Regions from separate parts of the Homo sapiens genome. Here regions 1, 3, 4 and 5 are each linked to region 2. Evidence: promoter capture Hi-C in 16 types of primary human blood cells and fetal thymus (Javierre and others, 2016). All regions are on one chromosome and are shown on one strand. The core of a region is centred on a gene start or on the middle of the fragment in contact, and the rest is flanking DNA. Distances in the headings are between cores, read along the strand shown. Region 1 holds the start of LINC01018 (long intergenic non-protein coding RNA 1018). Region 2 holds the start of ICE1 (interactor of little elongation complex ELL subunit 1). Region 3 overlaps TENT4A (terminal nucleotidyltransferase 4A). Region 4 holds the start of LOC124900934 (a long non-coding RNA gene). Region 5 overlaps LOC107986401 (a long non-coding RNA gene).

Region 1 (2,700 bases), core at 39-2,538, 1.2 Mb after region 2:
ATACTGTCAGCCAAAATTAAGGCTATTGAGGCAGAAATAATTTGAGAAAGGTTTACTGGAAGCCAAATGTGAGGATTGTTCCAGGGTCAGAATAGTTCTATGAGAAAGTTTAGGAGCAGGGAGGGGAGGGCACTCCTTACATTGGAGTTGTCCTTTCCATTGGAGGGTACCAGGGTGTCCCAAAGAGGTTACAATCATTAGCTTCAGATTACAACACAAACACATGCTAAAGCATTCTATCTGCAAGACAACTGGCAAAACTTCATGATTCAGAGACAAATCAGGGCCTGGTGCACTGGTTCATGCTTGTAATCCCAGAGTTTTTCGAGGCTGAGGTGGGGGATCCCTTGAGGCCAGAAGTTTGAGGTTACAGTGAGCTATGATGGTGCCACTGCATTCCAACCTGGGCCACAGCTCAAAGCCCCATTTCCAAAAAATAAATAAGTAAAACAGAAATAAATCAGTGTCTTTTTTCACATTGATCTGTATGTTGACAGTTGGAGAAGGGTACGAGAAGATCTGAGGGATTCACGAGAAGACCCTTTACTCAGGGGACAGGATGCAAACCATGCATCATGAAACCTTCCCCAAGCAGGTAACTCGGAAGGCTGCCAAGTGGGACCTGTAGGCTCTCAGCACCTAGCCGTGGAATGACAGATCCAAGCTGGAAGGGATACGGACAATCCATAGGTCCCACCCGCCTCTTTCAGCAGTGAGAGAATTGAGACACCGTCGGGTGTCTCCTGAGGTCACCCAGCTAACTGGCCCCAAGAAGCACAGGCCCCAGGAAGCCCACCCTTTGTCTCCCCCAGATTCTGACCAACCCCCACATCATCTCCTTGCCTGGTTTCTCTGGGGAACCAGGAAAAGAGCTGAAGAGTAGCTTCTGCTTTATAATGTTCACATTCCATTTCTAGTTGAAATTCAGTTGATTTTTAAATAATGCATCGCCTTAGATTGTGGGTTTTGGCAGGAATTTCAAGATACAGATAAAATTCCAGAGAGTAAAAAAGAGAAACACGTTTACTGCCAATTCCTTTTGAGGGGAATAGAAAAACATATTTTTGAATAAGCTCATCCTGGGTTCAGCTTCCCCTGTGAGAAGGACACATATAACAATAAGAAATTAAGGGTTCGGGAAGGAGAGGGGCCACCCTGTGCTCACCCCCACACAGCCCTGCAGGAAAACCCAGTGAACGGTGCCCAGGTGCCTGGCTGACTCCTGGGCCGGGAGGGGACATGGAGGGACAGTGGCCATCAGGCTCTTTGTGGACACTGGGGATTAACTACTGCTCGTTCTCAGCTCACTGGTGTCCAGCCCATCAATAACCTCATCAATAACCTAACTTTGGTCAATTAGGTTGGAGTCCGAAGGTGACTGATTTGCGGCAAGGTTTTCTCTCTTCCTCTGTAAAGTGGAGTCCTTCATCATTCATCGCAAGTAGACAACTCGCTTCCTAATGCCTCTGCATTAAGGAGCCAGGCGCTGCAGCTCTTTGGTACGTGACCTCAAATAGATTCATGCGTCCTTCTGCTGACACGGTGAGTACCTCCTGGAGTCCAGGACTCAGAGCATGGACACACCCTAACTCCAGCTAGGGGAGGGCGAAGCCACCTGCACCTGGGAGGCTGGCGCTGCCTAAGCGGGTCAGGCAAGTCCTCGCCTTGGAGGGGAGAGTCCTTAGTGATTTTCCCTGGCTCTGCTCCCACCGACGAGACGGACTCAGGAGGGGCGAACGGTATGTGGGGCGGGGACGCTTTGTTCAGATGGCGTCATCAACCCCAGGTCCGTCTGGTCTTTTTTATTCACTGCATATTAAGGTGCGTGCGGCCTGTGGCTGGTCCCTGTCCTGCACACCTGTATGGCCTGGACTAGGCCTGAGCGCCTCAAGGGCCGAGCTGGGTCCTCCCCACCCGCCGGATTCCCCAGCGCCCAGGCTGTCTCCAAAGAATCCCCCCGAGAGCAGGTCCCCGCTTCTCGGGCGTCGGGGCTCGCCGCAGTCACGCTGCACACCCTCCCGGCCTAGGGCGGCGCCGGCCCGGGACTCGCGTGTCTCCCCGCGGCGCCGCGCAGGACCCGGGCCTCGGAGCCCGGCAGCATCCCCTGCTGGCCGCTGGGCTGAGGAGCCGCGGGAGGCGGGGAACGCGGGGCCGCGGGGGCTGGGCGGGCCGGAGTGCGCGGTAGAGGGGGCGGCGCGGCCGGGGTGCGCGGTAGAGGGGGCGGAGCGGCCGGGGTGCGCGGTAAAGATGGGGCGGCGCGGCCGGGGCTCGCCAGCACCAGCCCTGGAACCCCATGGGGGACCTCGACAACAGCGCCTTTGCGGCGTGGGCCCCTTTCTGCAGCTCCTCCACCCGCGCGCTGTCGGCTCCGGGACACTGGGGCTTTGAAGGGCGCCAGTTCCCAGCCGCACCTGCACGCCTAGGAGGGCGCAGGCCGCGTGTCCCTGTGGGAGGAAGGCCCCGGCAACCTGCAAAGACCTCACGTCACAGAAACTTGCGGCGTTTGCCCCCGATGCGCGCGTCAGGTGCTCCGTCCCTTCCAGGTGGCAGAGGAGAGGGAAGGGTCGCGCCTGGTGGGGGCCTGAGAGCCACCGGGCTGCGGTGCGCGAGTGTGGACACCGCCCCGCCTTCTGCGTCTACAGCCCTGGGTTCTGGGACCTTTGGAAACCGCTTTGGACGAAGCTGAGCATCTCTTTCCCC
Region 2 (2,700 bases), core at 1-2,500:
TCTATCACCGGCAGGTCCTCAGTTAGGTACACGCCTGTCTTGCTTGGGTGTCAACGACAGGAAACTTAGCTATCGCTGGATGTCTGCTTCCGCCACTCCACAGCAGGTGGTATCCAGAGTGTGTAAGCAAGGTCAGGGGTGCGAAATTTGGAGAAGAAAACTCAGAGAAAAATGCAGACTGCTTTTTTTGGAAGGGGTGTTTTCAGTTGCAATTTCCATACTGAGGAGCTAGAAATTGGCTGGTAAGGTCTAGACATTAACTTAACTAAACGTGCATTCCTCCTCTTGAATTTGGACTTTATAAGGAATTTGGATTGTATAACCACACGATGGAAGCTGCGAGAGGCTTCTGAACAAGGTACTGACGGCGACCAGCTGTGATGACTAAAAAGACGATTCTGGTGGTGGTGGATACGGTGGCTGGAGATAAGAAAAACCTCGGTTCAAACGAGATCTGAATTTACCCACTAACTACGACCACGAGGAGTTTATTCCTTTATCTTTCCGTTTTCTCTCTCTCCCGAGAAGTGTCAAAAACAGGATTTGGAGGTGGCAGGATAATGGCCAAAATGGGTAGACAAGGTGGCGAACGATTCAACCAGGCTCTGGGCTTGGCGCATGGTGGGCGGTGGCGCCCACACCTGGGCCTGGGAACCCGCCGCTCGGGCATCACTGGCTGCCGCGGCGACCGGCGAGGACACATGACCGAGGAGCGAAAGGTCAGAAGACAAGGGGACTGTTACAGGAGCAGGGGAGCCGCCACTGGCTGCTAAGGCCGTGCAACTGGCGCCGAAGCGCACGATCTCCGCCCGCCCCGCAGCGCGTCGGGAACTGTAGTCCCTCCCTCTCCTGCTCCCTGGCCCAGGACGGGCTCCGGGACAGCGCCTATCCCTCTAGCTGTAAATCACGCACTTTCCTGTCCTGGACGCCGGGTCCTTCCACTTCTCAGGCGTCTGGAGCTTACGTCACGGGCGGGTCACCGCCCACATAGCGGAGGCCTTTAGGTGTCTATGGAAAGCCTGTCGTACAGCAAGGTGGCAATAAAGGATCGACCCTTAACAGTGGTAGGAATGCACCTTCGATCCTTCTACTCCTATTGGCTGCTCCTCTGTGGGCGTCTCCCCCGCCGCATAGCACAGCTCCTCTCCCGGTGTTGCTCAGGCAGCGCCTTAGGCAGCCCCGCGCCCAGGGGAGGGGCGGGGCGAGCCAGGGCGGGGCGGGGCGAGCCAGGGCGGGGCGGGGCCCTGACTGGACTGCGTCGCGCTCGGGGGCCGCGCCGGGTAGCGTTTCTTTTTAGTGCCTGAGGCAGCTCTGGCTCGGAGAGCCTTTTGCTAGCCCCACGGGGACCTCTGTGCACGGATGGACCCGCCCGGACCTGGCGGGAAGCGGCCTGGCAGGCGGCGGCCCCGGCGGCATCAGCAGAGACAGGACGGGGCCGACGCCGCGGGCCCCTGAGGCGTGCGTGCCCACCGGGCCCGGCGGCGGCACCATGATGCCGGGCGAGACCCATTCGGCGGCGCCCGGGACGGCGGCGGACCTGTCGCGATGTCAGGGCTGCGCCTCTCTGCAGCAGGTGCAGCACCTCCCGGGGCCCCGGGCGCGGGGGGGGACTCGGCTCGGCCGGCCGGGAGCGCAGGGATGTGGGGTCCGGCCGCGCGGGCTGTGCCTCAGTGCGCTGCTCTCCCTTCCCAACCGTAGCTCTTGCTCGCTCGTCTCTCTGCTCTCTTTTTCCTACATGAGTTTTGGGGACGGCTTTCTTTGCTTTATTTAAGCTTGAAACCCAGAGTTCATTGACTGGAATGCGCTGGTGTAACGGTGGGGGTGGAGTAAGCGAGGTTTGGAGGGCCCCCCACCTTCCCTACCCGGCCTCGGAGCTCCCTAGGGCAGACTCCGTAGGTCAGTGAGGGACAGGTGAAACGCCGAGGGCAGTTATCTCCCTGAGGATAACGCTTTGGTCTTCTGGCCCATCCTGAGTATTTGTTGTTTGGAGGCAGAATCTTACGTGACATGTGGGTTGTCTGAGTCTTAGACTCGAAGAGTCTAGGGAGGCGTTTCAGCTTATAGCAGATGTGCCATCCCGAGGCTAATTTTTTAAAAAGCAAGCCAAGTAATTGGTCAAGTAGCTTGTCAGTTGTTTGATAAAAGTAGTTTATGAAAGGCATGCAGAGACTGGAGGTTTCTAACAGCGGCGTGGGCTCTTCTTTAGAGTGACATAAGGGAGAATTGCTAGAGTATGGCTCCAGATCTTATGGGGTGGTACTTGGGCAATAGTGCCCCTCATTTCCCACGACTCTCCTAGCTGCCTGATGTCGGGGGTCTCTTTTAACTTCCTACTATCGCGGTTTCAGTGATAAAACGGAACTCACCAGCACCTCATTACCTACTCTGCCTAGTGTTCTAGGAACTACAGACATTGTGGTGAACAAAATAGGATCTCTCATAAGTAAGATGCATATGTGTGAATAAGGCCTCAGAAGATTTTAGGTGTTAGAAAATAAAGGAGGATGTTGGAATATTGGTCTTGTCTCTTAGCTAGAGTAGTCAGGTAGGGAATTTTTGAGTCAGTAACTTTCAGATATTTGAATAATGGGAAGGATCGGGCTGTCAGAAGAGATGTGGGAAGAGCTTCCTGGATAGAGGGATTAACAGGTGGAAAGGTTCCTTTGGTGAGAAGGAGCAGGGTGTCTTTGATGAGCAGAA
Region 3 (2,700 bases), core at 176-2,675, 1.3 Mb after region 2:
GAGGGCTTTCTCTCATGTGCCCTCGTCCATCCCTTTCGAGTTGGCACTGTCCGATAGAATTCTGTGATGGTGATGGCCACTTCTGCATGGTCCGGCAAGGGGCAGGGCGCCACATGTGGCTACTGAGTATTGCAGTGTGGCTGGTGAGAGCAACAAGCTGGATTTTTAATTAATTTGTTTTAATTCATTTAAATAGACATGTGGGCAATGCAGGTCTGGACAGCTGAGAATTATGACCCTCAGGAGGTGTGGTGGACAGTGGTTTACTTCCGAACAAGCCCAGTGCCTGCTTTTGAAGACGATATGGCACTGAACTGAGAGTGGTGCTCATCTGTGTGACAAGCAGGATGGAAGCTTGCTATAAATATTGTGATATAATGCTAATGACCTTTACACAGCTAAAATCAATCCTTTCACTTTTCCGGTTTTATGTGATACTGCCATACTAGTCAGTCTAACACTGACCCCTGTTGGTTGTGCTTCAGCATAACGAAATTAGGATGACGAGAATCTGAAATTACATCTACCATCCAGGTGACTAAGTTATGCAGAATATAGTCCAACTTATTTGCCCATATTTGGTTAATCAGATATCTGTGTTTGCAGGAAGTTTGCTGTATGGATTACCAATTTCAAAAATCAAACTACACTAAAATTCAGATGAGTCCGTTGTGTTCCTTTTGAACACTCCTCGTTGAAGAGGCTGCTGTTCAGGCTTCCTCGTGGTGCTGGTGAGTGAGCGAGTGCCACTCACTGGTATTGCCTTGAAGAGGCTGCTGGACAGCAGACTTCGTCGCGTGCTATTTTCTTTAGAACATGCCATGAATCCATACAAATTGTGGGTGCATTGCTTTTACAGTTGCATCCAAGAATTGATGCCCGGAGAGCTGATGAAAACCTTGGAATGCTTCTTGTAGAATTTTTTGAACTCTATGGGAGAAATTTTAATTACTTGAAAACCGGTATTAGAATCAAAGAAGGAGGTGCCTATATCGCCAAAGAGGAGATCATGAAAGCCATGACCAGCGGGTACAGACCGTCGATGCTGTGCATTGAGGACCCCCTGCTGCCAGGTAAGGGCGCCCTGATCTCCACTGCTGAGAGCTGGGCCAGCCTCGGGGACGTGCTGGTGACAGGGCCTGTGTTGGGGCTCTGAGAGCCCCGGGCAGTTCATTTGCTCTTGATGCAGGTTTCTCTTATACTAACCAGTTAATAATCACACTTTGAGAAATCCTTATTTAATGCTTCTAATTAACTTTTGTCTTTCTAACTGTTTACATTCTATAATAAAGAAGAATTAAGGAAAATCTTTTCTTTTTCTGATTATTGAAGTATAACATATCCACCCTAAACCATTTGTTTCTCTGAAGTATGTAATATAGAAAAACCATGGATGCCATAATCCCCTTTTATTTGGACATGTATTTCTCCACTTTTTCCCTATATGGATATTAATGTTTATTATTGTTATCTTGTTGAACACATCCCACAACGCAAACACGTTTGTCACTTGGCTTTTGACTTAACGCTTACCCTTGACCCTTTCCTATGTGTGTAGGTTGTGTTTTGTCGTGAGGATTGCCGCATTGAAGAGTCTAAGGCTGGGCTAGAGGTTTCCCGGTTTTATTCCCATTGGCGTATTCAGGGGTATTTATGTCCTCATTCCTTTGGTGACAGTCTTTTAAAATCTTTGCCAATCTGATAAAACCATGTGTTAACGCTTTTAAATTTATATTTCTTTAATGATTAGTGGGGTTAAACACATTGCTATTTATGAATTCCACAAATTTTGATTGAGCGTCTGTTAGGTGAGATACCATTCTTACTGTTGGTGATAAAATCGTTGGCGGACGGGTGACAGAACAGGTGGTGGAGAGCCCAGCTCCAGGCGCGTGTCCCTGGGCCTTCTCCTCTGTGTGGCTCTGTGTGCTGTCCGCCCGGTTGCTGGCTGCCCTCCTCTGCTGTGTGCAAGGCCTGTGTGTGTCGGGGAAGCCTTTCTTGTCACACATGTCATACTTTTTCCAATTTGTTTTTTGCATTTGTATTTTTTTATTCAGCTCCTATACATTTAAAAAAACACCTCAGATTTAATGGTTGTTTTTGTTTTATGGCTTCTGGGATGTGAGCTTTATTTATTTCCTAAAGATCGTCTCAAGGAAAACACATTGGCTGATGTGTTTTGTTGTTGTTTATAGATGGCATGATTTGTGCAGGCTCTTGAGTGGTTTTCTTGGTAGCACGGTATGGCAGTGTATCATCCATTTTTGTCCGTTGGATGAGTCACATTGGAGACATTGGCATTGTCTTCAAGTGTCTGCTGAAATGTACTCAAAAAACAAAGACCCACATAATCGTTGAGTTATAATATAAATCTAGAAAAGATAAAACTCCAGTACTTAGAACATATATCCTTTAAAAGAAATCCACACTTAACCTGATTGTGAAGAATGAGTTGTTTGTAGATTAAAATTAGAAACAGTGCTTTTCTTATGAAAATTAAGCTTCTCCTGACTGGCTTCCTTGGTGACTGCTGTGACAGATTCCTTTGATTTGCTGTCCCAGTTTTCCACACGTGAGAATTCACATTCCATTCTAAAGGATTTACTTCCTGTAGGTTCCATTAGCGTTGACTGAGTTGTGATGCACTTGGGGTGAGCTGCCCTTCTACCTGCCCTGTTGGGGCACTGTGAGGCCTCCTGA
Region 4 (2,700 bases), core at 142-2,641, 1.3 Mb after region 2:
GAGCTAGAGGGGTGGGTTTGGGGTGGGGTTAGACAAGTGAGGCTAGAAGTGTGGGGTTAGAGCAGTGGGACTACAGAGGTGGAGCTAGAGCGGTGGGGCCAGAGGGGCGGGGCTAGAGGGGCGGGGCTAGAGAGGTGGAGATAGAAGGGCGGGACTAGAGGAATTGGGCTAGAGGGTCGGGGCTAGAGGGGTGACGCTAGGGCTCAGACTCCAGGACAGACAGAAGTGACGGGGATCGACAGGCTCTGGGAAGTCTCGTGCCTCGTCTGCCTCCCATGGCTGGCTCTGCTGCGCTGCTGGTGATTTGTGAAAGTGAAGATTTTACTTTGAAGTGCAAAAGCTGTTCCATTTGTTGGTCATAAAGACATTTTTAGGCAAGTAAGTAAATAATTAATGAAATGTTTTGTTTTAATTTTTTAAGAGAATGATTCTATGCCTTACATTTGTATAAAGCAGTGAAAAACAACACCCTATCCCCCCCTTAAGAACCAATTCAAATAAAATACAAATGTTTATGCAGTTCACATTTTTATTCATAATGAAAATGCTTTATTAAGTCACATGGGAATAAAACGTAGATTCTTACAGATTAGATGACTTATTCAATGAATACAAGAGCATCATTGTCAAAATAAGCCGTGCAATGTTCCTTGTCTAGGGCAAATGAAAAGTTACTGCAGAAAAGCAGGTTTCCAATTTTTTGCCCTGTTGTGTTGCACAGCGTGTCATACACTATCCAGTGTGTGCTGTGTTCAGAAGTCGACACCCAGCACTGTCTTGAATGTTATGAGTCTATATTTCAACAAATAAAACTTACTAGAAATTAAGACAAATAAATTTTATACTCTAGTCAAAACTTAGTAATTTATTCTGTAATGTACATAGTAATATAGCTTTTCTGTAACTGGCACAGAATAGCTTCACATTTCATACTTGATGTTGGTAATAAGTAATTATTTTATTTGAGATAAGTTGGTACACTGTGTTCTTTCCTTTCCTTCTACCTTTTGGACACAGAGCAGATGTCACTGGAGCTTTTGGCTTGGACTGTGGCTAGCTCCAGGCTGCCCACCTTGGGTTTGTCATTAACCCTGCACAGCGGTAAGCTTGCCTTGAGGCCTCAGTTCAGTGCACTCGATAAATGGTTATTTGCACCATATGCTGGGCACGTGTGGCCTAAGCACAGAAAGGCTCTGTGCGCTTGCGGAGAGCGGCCAGGCAGGCAGGCAGGTCCTGTGGCTCCTCATAGGTGGAGGTAGATGTGTGGGATGTGAGGTACCCACTCACAGCGGGTCTCACTTGCTTCTCTTGATTCTGCCTCGATTCACTCTCACAGAGGAGATTTATCCCCAGGTATTAGATCCCCTCTACAATAACAACAGCAGGATATTAATTTTCCCTGCAAAATGACACTATTCTGTAAAACAAGTAGTAATCAGATGTTTCATATGCATAGACAATGTAAAGTTAAATGTGATATATTAATACTGTTGTATATCAATAAGTTTCTATAAATAATCAAATCATAACATGTAGCTAAGTAACATTAATTACACATTAGTGATTTGATTTCATCTCAGATTCTTGAGACATAAGAAAAACAAAAATGACAGAAATTTCCCAATTGACTTCATTCAATTGATTGATACAGAAAGTCAACCAGATACCTCTATCAAAAAGCTTATACTTTATATGGGTGTGTTCATCTATTCCTAATGCAGGTGTTTTGATACCTGTATTATATTTTAAATATGTACATGTATCAGTCAGAGTTTTCCAGAGAGATAGAACCGATAGAATGGATAGATGGATAGATAAATATATTTATTTTAAGCATTACCTCACTGAGCTGTGGGGGCTGGCAAGTCTGGAATCTACAGGCCAGCAGGCTAGAAACCCAGGCGGGAGATGGTGCTGCCATCCTGAGGCAGAATTTCTTCTCTGGGAAACTTCAGTTTTTGCTCCTGTGACCTTCAACTGATTGGATGAGGCCCACCACATTATCCGGGGTAATCTCCTTTACTGACATCTACAGAATACCTTCACAGCAACACCTACATTAGTGTTTGACCAAACAAAGAGGCACTGTGTCCTAGCCAAGTTGACACCTAAAATTTACCATCACAGTAACCTTTACAAGTTAGCGTCCTACCCTTTTCAGAAGACTTGGAACTGGAAAATATCACGACATACACAAAAAATTACTAATTTCAATGGAGAGTAATTCATAGAAAGGGTTTAAGACCCTCCTGGTTTGAGGCCAGCCTGGCCAACATGGTGAAATGCCGTCTCTACTAAAAATACAATAATTAGCCGGGCGTGGTGGCTCGCGCTTGTAATACCAGCTACTCAGGAGGCTGAGGCAGGAGAATCACTTGAACCGGGGAGGCGGAGGTTGCAGTGAGCCGAGATTGTGCCACTGCACTCCAGCCTGGGCGACAGAGCAAGACTCCATCTCAAAAAGACCCTCTGGGGCAGGCAGAGACATAGACACTGTGCAGAGGCTGTTGCAGGTGGTCCTGGGGAAGCAGATGTGCTTCTTCCCGCAGAGCAGACAGTGTGGGATGCACAGCCGGTGCCTGCTCCACTGTGTTCAGAGCATGACTCCAGGGCCAGGTGAACCCCCAGGGCCAGGTGAACCCCACGGGTTCTTGGGTTTCCACCTGTGCCATGTGTTGGGGTGGGATAGGAGAGAAGCTA
Region 5 (2,700 bases), core at 165-2,664, 1.3 Mb after region 2:
ATGCCGGGGCTTACCCCCAGAGACTGTGAATTGAATGGTTAGGAGGGAGCCTGCACACACCGGAGAGCTCTGAGCACCAGGCGAGTCTCCCATGTGGCCAGGTTGGGAGCCATCGCTGTTCATGTGGCCAGGGCTGCCTTGCCAGAGGAACTCATCTTACTTTGCCACCATGAAAATGTAACTGTTTATCATGTCATGACCTCCCTTGCTACAGTCGCTCTCGTCTTTTGTGTTCTATTTAATTTTTTAAAATGCTGGTGGCCCAGTCACTAAATTTTTTTTTTTTTTTTACCACCACTCATGGGCAGGACCTGTTACGTGAGACATGCACCAAAGCACGGAGAGGGACAGCCACGATCCTGCCCGGAACGGGTCTTCAGAACTGGGCAGAGCATGGCTCCTTTTGATGGGGGCCCCAGAACTCCTTTTCAAAGGCAATGGCAGGACGGGATCCACAGTGGGTGGCCCTTTGATAAGGAGGCATCCTCCAGCCAGAGTTGACACCACGTGGACAAGGTCTCAATGCTGCTTAACACTGTTTTGGGTGCAGAACAAAGAGCGGTTGGAACATTTCTCGTCTAGTCTCCCCCTCTGTACGTGTCCTGTGTTTCTAGCTTGTTCAAAGTGGTCAAAGACCCAAGGCTGGTCTGGCACAGAAGGGGTCGTGCCTACATGTAGGGAGGCGCTGACCCTTCTGTCTCCCCTTGTATGTCCCCAGGGACAGGACAGCCCCCTGCCTGTTGTCCCCAGTGTCCTCTGTGAATGGGGACCAGCTGTCTTTCAGGTAACTCCCTCCTCCTCCACCTCTGTCCACTCGCTCCGGTAGCCACCCCTTCCACGTGCAGTACGGCTCTGCATCCCTGAGAGCCTCGATGACTCCTCTCCTCTGCCTCTTCTCTAGTGTTGGGTCCTATATCTGTCAGTTAATTACGTATTCATTATAAGAACATATTTCTCTTGGGTCAATATTTAACTTTTCAAATTTATCTTCTTTACTCAATAAATTGTGACCATGGGTGTCTGTTCCTCGTGGGCTCAACACTGCCAGGCATGTAGAAATTGCTTGATGCAGTTTCACTGGCTTGTGGACAGGCAGTTATGCTTCTCTGTGCTTCTGTGATTCCATGCTAAAGAAAGTCAGTAGCAAGCAAATAGCAGAGCTTTAGTGGGTAAGGACAGTATTTTACCTTGAAAAAGGCAGCAGGAAAGAGAGTTAAGACTCAAGTTTCCTTTATTAAGGAAAATTGAAATCTAGGTACCTACAGATGCTCTTTGACTTATATGATATGGTTAGGTCTCGATAAACCCACTGTAAGTCAAAAATGCTTTTAATACACCTAACCTACCGAATGTCTATGTTACATATGCGTAGAGCACTTATATTTGCATCCAGTTGGGCAAAATCATCTAACACAAGCTGATTTTATTAATATTAAAATTGATGTAATATATGTACATATTTTAGTACATGTGATAGTTTAATATGTTCATATAATTTGTATAGGTCAAATCAGAGTAATCAGGAGATCTATCACCTTAAATATTTCTTTATGCTAAAAACATTGGAATTATTCTATCTATTTTGAAACATACAATAGATTGTTATAAACTTTAGTGTCCCTACTGATCTAGAACTACCATGTGATCCAGAAATCTCACTATTGGGCATATATCCAAAAGAAAAAATTATTGAAGAGACATCTGCACTCCATGTTTTTTGCAGCACTATTGACAAGAGCCAAGATGTGGAATCAATCTAAGTGCCCATCAGTGGATGAATGGATAAAGAAAATGTGGTGTAAATACACAGTGGAACACTCTTCAGCCATTTGAAACACAGATAGAACTGGAGGCCATTATGTTAAGTGAAACAAGCCAAACAGAAAGGTAAATACTGCATGTTCTCGGATGTGGGAGCTGAAGTGGATCTTCTGAAGATAGAGAATGGACTGGTGTTACCAGGGGCTGGGAAGGATTGGGAGTAGGGGGATGAAGAGAGGTTGATTAATGGGTACACAATCTCACATAATGTATTGTATGCTTTACTGAAATAAAAACAGAATGGTTGTATGGGTACTCTAAGTATGGTTTCTCCTAAACACATACGGCTTCCACACCATCATAAAATTGAAAAATCATTAAGTCAAGCACTGTCTAATATAACTTAATACAATGCTAAGGTCCTTCATTTAATTGTAACATAAGTCACTCAAGTGTTGCCATCCTGGATGATTTTCTTGGATTTTTTTTTTTTTTTTTTTTTTTTAAGACAAGGTCTTCTTGCTCTGGAGTGCAGTGGTGTGATCACAGCTCATGGCAGCCTCATACTCGTAGGCTCAAGCAATCTTCTCATCTCAGCCTCCAGAGTAGCTGGGACTACTGGCATGTTCCACCATGCCCAGTTAATTATTATTATTGTTTTTTGTAGAGACGGGGTTTTGCCATGTTGTCCAGGGTAGTCTCGAACTCTTGGGCTCAAGCGATCCTCCCTCCTCAGCCTCCCAAAGTGCCGTGTGCCACCATACCCAGCCCCTCTTTGGTTTTTTAAAAGTGCCTGCTAGCTCATCAGCACAGGAGCAAGGCGACTTGGAGCCACAATGAGACAGATGATTGCCAGTGTTGTTTCATTTCAGTTCTTAAGTTCCTGCATGGGGTGCTTACTGATGAGTCTGTCTCTCCTCTCAGGTAAGCCAGGCCTCC

The links. Contacts are between HindIII fragments. The CHiCAGO score rates a contact against its expected background, and 5 or more counts as called.
Region 1: a contact is called between a fragment that was not itself captured here and the fragment with the promoter of ICE1 in region 2, in 1 of 17 cell types (endothelial precursors). The highest score is 5.5, in endothelial precursors.
Region 3: a contact is called between a fragment that was not itself captured here and the fragment with the promoter of ICE1 in region 2, in 11 of 17 cell types (total B cells, naive CD4 T cells, naive CD8 T cells and 8 more). The highest score is 31.0, in total B cells.
Region 4: a fragment that was not itself captured here is called in contact with the fragment with the promoter of ICE1 in region 2 in 5 of 17 cell types (total B cells, naive CD4 T cells, total CD8 T cells and 2 more); the score reaches 8.6 in total B cells.
Region 5: a fragment that was not itself captured here is called in contact with the fragment with the promoter of ICE1 in region 2 in 5 of 17 cell types (monocytes, non-activated CD4 T cells, activated CD4 T cells and 2 more); the score reaches 6.3 in monocytes.

What each region holds. Positions count from the first base shown.
Region 1 is chr5:6,581,060-6,583,759 of GRCh38, forward strand. It overlaps LINC01018 (long intergenic non-protein coding RNA 1018), which reads left to right and starts at 1,077. Exons shown (of 5, transcript NR_024423.2): 1 at 1,077-1,207; 2 at 1,361-1,542; 3 at 2,544-2,700. RefSeq lists silencers at 2,159-2,208, 2,256-2,417. The HindIII fragment of the contact is 6,908 bases long and covers 1-2,700 here.
Region 2 is chr5:5,421,427-5,424,126 of GRCh38, forward strand. ICE1 (interactor of little elongation complex ELL subunit 1) reads left to right here and starts at 1,251. Exons shown (of 19, transcript NM_015325.3): 1 at 1,251-1,573. The coding sequence starts at 1,490. It overlaps LOC101929200 (a long non-coding RNA gene), which reads right to left and starts at 703. Exons shown (of 6, transcript XR_001742583.3): 1 at 1-703. RefSeq lists enhancers at 1-497, 498-1,008, 874-1,123 and silencers at 1,154-1,483, 1,544-1,683. The HindIII fragment of the contact is 2,607 bases long and covers 1-1,770 here.
Region 3 is chr5:6,745,355-6,748,054 of GRCh38, forward strand. TENT4A (terminal nucleotidyltransferase 4A) reads left to right here. Exons shown (of 13, transcript NM_006999.6): 7 at 860-1,073. Among named protein-coding and RNA genes, the nearest start is that of TENT4A, 33 kb to the left of the region's middle. The HindIII fragment of the contact is 2,147 bases long and covers 353-2,499 here.
Region 4 is chr5:6,682,301-6,685,000 of GRCh38, forward strand. It overlaps LOC124900934 (a long non-coding RNA gene), which reads right to left and starts at 2,153. Exons shown (of 2, transcript XR_007058680.1): 1 at 1,841-2,153; 2 at 516-1,367. The HindIII fragment of the contact is 574 bases long and covers 1,105-1,678 here.
Region 5 is chr5:6,762,986-6,765,685 of GRCh38, forward strand. It overlaps LOC107986401 (a long non-coding RNA gene), which reads left to right. Exons shown (of 2, transcript XR_007058681.1): 2 at 1-2,076. Among named protein-coding and RNA genes, the nearest start is that of LINC02236, 32 kb to the right of the region's middle. The HindIII fragment of the contact is 7,832 bases long and covers 1-2,700 here.